Linked DNA regions of Homo sapiens: region 1 is linked to region 2. The links are contacts of gene promoters, found by promoter capture Hi-C in blood cells and fetal thymus (Javierre and others, 2016). All regions are on one chromosome and are shown on one strand. Each heading gives the region's core, a stretch centred on a gene start or on the middle of the fragment in contact. The rest is flanking DNA. Distances are from core to core; before and after follow the strand shown. Region 1 has its middle 1.9 kb from the start of SDS. Region 2 holds the start of WSB2 (WD repeat and SOCS box containing 2).

The links. Contacts are between HindIII fragments. The CHiCAGO score rates a contact against its expected background, and 5 or more counts as called.
Region 1: a fragment that was not itself captured here is called in contact with the fragment with the promoter of WSB2 in region 2 in 1 of 17 cell types (M0 macrophages); the score reaches 5.7 in M0 macrophages.

The regions. Positions count from the first base shown.
Region 1 is chr12:113,404,400-113,407,099 of GRCh38, reverse strand. No RefSeq gene overlaps it. Among named protein-coding and RNA genes, the nearest start is that of SDS, 1.9 kb to the right of the region's middle. The HindIII fragment of the contact is 773 bases long and covers 1,038-1,810 here.
Region 2 is chr12:118,059,799-118,062,571 of GRCh38, reverse strand. WSB2 (WD repeat and SOCS box containing 2) reads left to right here and starts at 1,393. Exons shown (of 9, transcript NM_018639.5): 1 at 1,393-1,536. The coding sequence starts at 1,524. LOC124903030 (a long non-coding RNA gene) reads right to left here and starts at 1,112. Exons shown (of 2, transcript XR_007063479.1): 1 at 892-1,112. RefSeq lists a silencer at 1,934-1,983. The HindIII fragment of the contact is 4,146 bases long and covers 1-2,589 here.

The DNA of each region.
Region 1 (2,700 bases), core at 175-2,674, 4.7 Mb after region 2:
ATCAAACATTAAGTTATAGAAATCTATCAAATAAATATATTTTATTTAGATAGGTAGTTTTACATTTAGTTTCTATCTTTTAACTGGAACTCAGAGCTCTGGACAGAGCCCACACTGAATCCCGGGTCTCCAAAGAGAATGATATGGTGGACCTAGGCTGTGTGATGCTTTTACAGTGTACTTTGTTGCAAAGACATTTCTCTAAGGGTCTAAACCATACTCTCTCTTATCTTTAAAAAAAATTTTTTTATATATAACTAGGCCCACACATCCAGACCCTCTCCTGTTTTAAACATTCAAGAGTAGCCCCTGTTGTAATAAAGATTTTAGTCAAAAAAGAAGTCAGGTAACACACAACAAAAGCAAGCAGTTGAAGATCTGAGAGGAACTTATCTGTTTATATTCTTAGGGCTCCATAAGGTTATGGAAAAACAGAGGTTTCTCCCCAAAAAGGAGTCTGGCACTTTCTCTGTTTTCCTTAAGGGAGTCCCAAGCTGTTAGAAATTATTTTAGGTTCCTTGAGCTGTAGAGGGTGGCAAGAGAAAGGAGACAGGCAGAAGTAAATTGGAAAAAACAGAAATCAGTCAACTGAGAAGAAAAAAGAAAACTTTTTCTCAAAAAACAAGATCCTGGCCAAGTGGGGCGGCTCTCACCTGTAATCCCAGCACTGTGGGAGCCTAAGGCCGGTGAATAACTTGAGGCCAGGAGTTCAAGACCCGCCTGGCCAACATGGTGAAATCCTGTCTCTACTAAAAATACAAAAACAATAGCCCAGTGTGGTGGTGTGCGCCTGTAATCCCAGCCACTTGGGAGGCTGAGGCAGGAGAACCACTTGAACCCAGGGAGTGGAGGTTGCAGTGAGCTGAGATCATGCCACTGCACTCTAGCCTGGACGACAGAGTAAGACTCCATCTCAAAAAAAAAACAGATCCTAAGAGAGAAAAAAATGCATTAAGGCCCTATGAATAAATAAATAAATAAATACACACACACACACACACACACACACATCTTAGATATTCGCCTTTAATTAAGCTTTTAACCATTGAGCTCTTTAAAAAATCCTTTTAAATCTCATCACCATATTTTAGCTGGGACAAACTGCTAATATTTCAAAAGTAACACAAACATCAAACCAGAAAGGACTTGATTTAGGAACCAAGCCCAGGCCACGGTGGTGAAAAAGGAACAGAATCTTAGCTACTGAACTAGCGTGAGGTGACAGCCATGTAGCCTCTTTCAGTTTGGCTTGGCTAGCAAAAGATGGCCTTGTTATGTAAATAATGCCCCTCAGGTAATCAAAATCCTTGTCTCTCTCTCTCTTTTTTCTTTTGCTGGCTGTTTTTTCTTTTTCCTTTTTTTTTTTTTCCAGCTGTGGGTATTTAGCCAATTCATGAGACCTTGTTCGCCATAATATGAAACTTTCCTTCAGATTTGACCAAGTCAAATGGAGTTGGTCCAGTCCAATGGGGAAAAGACAGAAGCAACAAAACAACAACAGAAACAAAAACAGTTAAGCAAGGGAAACAAACAATCAAGCAATTTATACGATTACTGCACGCTCTAAAAGTAGGGAGAAATTAAGACCAGCTGGTTGTTAACCCTAACTTCTAGTCATGGGGCCCAGGCTGAAGACCGCTCTCTACCATCCTAGAAGCGGGGAAATCTCAAACTTGCCTTCCCTGCCGGACACAAGCGAAACTCCAGAAAGGAGCTGCCTGCTTGCCATCATCATGGAAGCCAGAAAACTCACCTTCCTTGTTGGAAGTGAGTAAAACGCAGAAAAGGAGCTGTTCAGGGAAATCAAGCTTAGATATCAACCAATTGTGGGAGATCAGGAGTTCTCTGGAGGTGGGGAGCTCCCAGGCCTCAGCAAACTGTCCTATTTTGGAGGGCAATCAAGATCGCTCAAGGCCGGCATGGTGGCTCACGCCTGTAATCCCAGCACTCTAGGAGACTGAGGCGGGTGGATCACTTGAGGTCAGGACTTCAAGACCAGCCTGGCTAACATGGTGAAACCCCATCTCTACTAAAAATACAAAAAATTAGCTGAGTGTGGTGGCACATGCCTATACTCCCAGTTATTTGGGGGGTTGAAACAGGAGCATCGCTTGAACCCAGGAGATGGAGGTTGCAGTGAGCCAAGATCATGCCATTGCACTCCAGCCAGGGTGACAGAGCAAGACCCACCAAGCACCAGTAGGAGACTTGTCAAAGGTCAGGGCCACCTCCACCCAGGGTCCCTTTCATGAGTCTCCAATCTGTAAATCAAAAAGAATCAAAAAGATTGAGACAGGACTCAATCCATTTAGAAATTTATTTCGCCAGGGTTAAGAATGCACCTGGGAGACAGGTCTGTGCTTTTCTCCAGAGATGACTTTAGGTGTCAGTATTTAAAGGAGAAAAGCAAGCTGGAGGGGAAAGAAGGAGGCTATGGCCACATTACCAAATCCACAGTTTGTAAGAGAAGAGGGGCAGATAGGGAAGTAGCCAATTATGTATTTGTCTTGATCTCAATAAATCGGCACTTTACATAAGATAAGGTGAACATAGAGTAGCGACCTGTGGAGATATTTAACTTTTTTTTTTCTTTCTGTTGTGAAGGCTGGAGTGCAGTGGCGAGATCTAGTCTCACTGTAACCTCTGCCTCCCAGGTTCAAGCAATTCTTGTGCCTCAGCCTCCTGAGTAGCTAGGATTAC
Region 2 (2,773 bases), core at 144-2,643:
CATAGGTTGCGTTAGGAAGCAAAGAAATTTAAAATGGAACCACTGCGATCCGGAGCTCTGGGACCAGTGACCGGCAAATGGAGAGGGCACTTGGAGGGAAGCGAAGAAAGGCGGGGAGAAAGGAATGAGAGGCGGGAGAGTGACTTGAATGAAGCTGACACCAAGAACCGCGGGAAGAGCTTGGGCCCAAAGCAGGAAAGGGAAGCGCTCGAGTTGGGGGTAAGGGGAGGCATTTTGGGGACAATGAGCTGAGCTCAGTAAGAAATCCCCAAGCCACTGATACTACTGGGGACCGGACAACTAAGAAATGGGGTCTTTCAGGCATGAAAAGCCTCCATGATGACTCCTGCCCTGGCCCTGGAATGTTAAAAAGGGGGCGTCTGACCCAAGCGAGCCATTTCTTGAGGCTATGCGGGTAGACAGGGAGAGCAGGTTTCTCAGGGGGACGGGGACAGGCGAGGCTGTCGCCGTAGGTAGGTAAGGGGACAGTCTTCTTCCGAATCGCTCCTGCCCCGTTTTTTATCTCGTTCCCACCCCCACTCCGGTTTTCACCCTGCCCTCCTCTCCCCACCGCCCCGTGTTCTCCTCACTTCCCTCTCCCATTACCGGAGCCATTGAGTAGCCCCCCTTGTTTTACCCTAGCCTTGACCCTCGCCGCACCCCCCAATTCTTACGTCCTCCCCAGCACCCGGTTATTACACCTTCCTTCCACCCCCTCCCCATTTTCCCCTAAGCCCAGCTCTCCCCAGGTTTCTTCTCGGCCAGTATTCCCTCCAACCTATTTCTCCCGCCCCCATTTTTACCCGTTTCCCCCCTCATCGGCCTTCGCATGGCTCCATTTTCACCTGCCCCTCCCCTCGATTTCGCTTCAGCCCCTTTGGTTCCCCTTACCCCCACAGCCCTCGGTCTCCCTCTCTCCGTTCTCCCCGGATCGCCGCTTCCCCTGCTTGGTTTTTCTCTCAGCCCGGCTCTACCACTCTCCAACACCCCCTTTTCCCCTGAGCCCGGCTTCCCCTACTCCGGTTTCTATCGCTCCCCTTTTCCCGGTTTCCCTCAGCTCTGTTCACCTCCCTCCCTTCCCCGTTTTTATCCGGCGCTGGTTCCCCTCAGGACCCCGCACAACCCCTGGGTTTTATCCCGTTCGCGCCCCACCCCGTTTCCGCTCAGCTCCCCCCACCCCTGCCCCATTTTTATCTGGTTCGCGCGTCTTCCCCGCCCCCGTTTCCCCTGAGCAACCCCTCAGCTTTTATCCCGTCAGCGTACCGCCTCCCCGATTTTCCATCTTTTCCCTCAGCTGCCCCCCACCGTTTTTATCCCGTCCGCACCCCCCCTCCGTTTCCCCTGCGCCCCGCCCCCGCGCGTCTCCGCCCGCGCCCACCGCCATGTGACGGGAAGCAGCTGATGGCCTCTCCGGGCGGCGGCGGCGGCCTGGCCGGGGCGGGCGGCGCGGGGGCGGCATGAGGGCCCGCGGCCCGGGGGGCTGAGGCGCCCGCCGCCTGCCGCGGGGGCCGCTCGCGTCCTCCATGGAGGCCGGAGGTGAGTGGGGCCGGGCGCGCCCGTTCCCGCCCGGCGGGGCCCTGGCCCGTTCTCCCCGGGGAGGGGGGAGGCGACCCCGGGGCGGGCTGGGCGGGGTGGGGCGGGGGCTGGACGCGGCGGGGGCGTCCGGCCTGGGAGGTCCGCGCGGGGCCGGCGGGGGTGCGCGCCCGGCGACCAGCTTTGTTTCACTTTCGTTGTCAGTGGCCGCCACCCTGACTCCCGCCGGCGACAGGATCGGGAAGATCGGGCTTCTGCGGGAGGAGATCCCCCGACCGGGACAGAGGGGGCTCCCGGGTGGGACTCGGGGCGGGGGGCACCAAGCCCTAAAACGGAGATCCCCAAGGGGGTGGGTGCCCCTGGGTACCCAGGTGCCAGGGGACGCACTTGCATGTCTGGATGGGAGTCACCTCTGTCCCTCACAAGCTGTGTGATCGTGACAGTGGACAAGCCACTGAACCACCGCCACCCACGTCTCAGTTTTGATCTGCAAAATGGGATAATCCTAGTACCTTCCTCGGAGGGTGGCTGGGACCCGGTAAAAATGGGGTCTGGGGTCTGGGTTCCCTATTGAAACAATCTATTCCCAGCCTCTCCCACTGGAGATTAAGTCAGTGGAGGTGGGGCGGGACTGGAGACGCTGATCCCTGGTGACATGTATGATCAGGCAAATTTAGGATACACTGATGGGTGGGGACCTTGCCTCTATTCTTGTTAACTGCCATCCCCATCAGAAGACAGCGTGGAAGTCAGAGGATATTGGATATACCTCAAGCCAGCCCAGATGAACATAAAATCTCAGTGGGAAAGGTGTGTCTCTTATGCAAGGGGAAAAAAACCCCAAGACGCATGCACGCCTTGGCCCTCTCCCCTCCAACGACCTTCCCTCGGAACCCCACTTGGGATAGATTTAGAATTGATTCCGGGAGTCCCAGGTCTTGAAGGACCCGAGTTTAAATGTAATTTCCTTAGGAGAAATTTTCAGAGCAGGTTCAAGGCCTAGGGCTCAGAATTTGTTCCAGAACTTCATGGTAATCTTGCAGCCAAGTTCAAGCTTCATCCTGGTCTGGAGGGTTCTGATTGCTGATGGCTTGTTACTGTGGGTGGGAAGGTTGAAATCTGGGTATTCCCTGGGGTGGTGTTACTTTTTAATTTAGGAAATGACATTTCTTTGTTTGCTGAAGTCAGGCATTGAGTTAAAGGCAGCTCTCTCTCCTTCCCATCTAGATAAGGGCTTTCT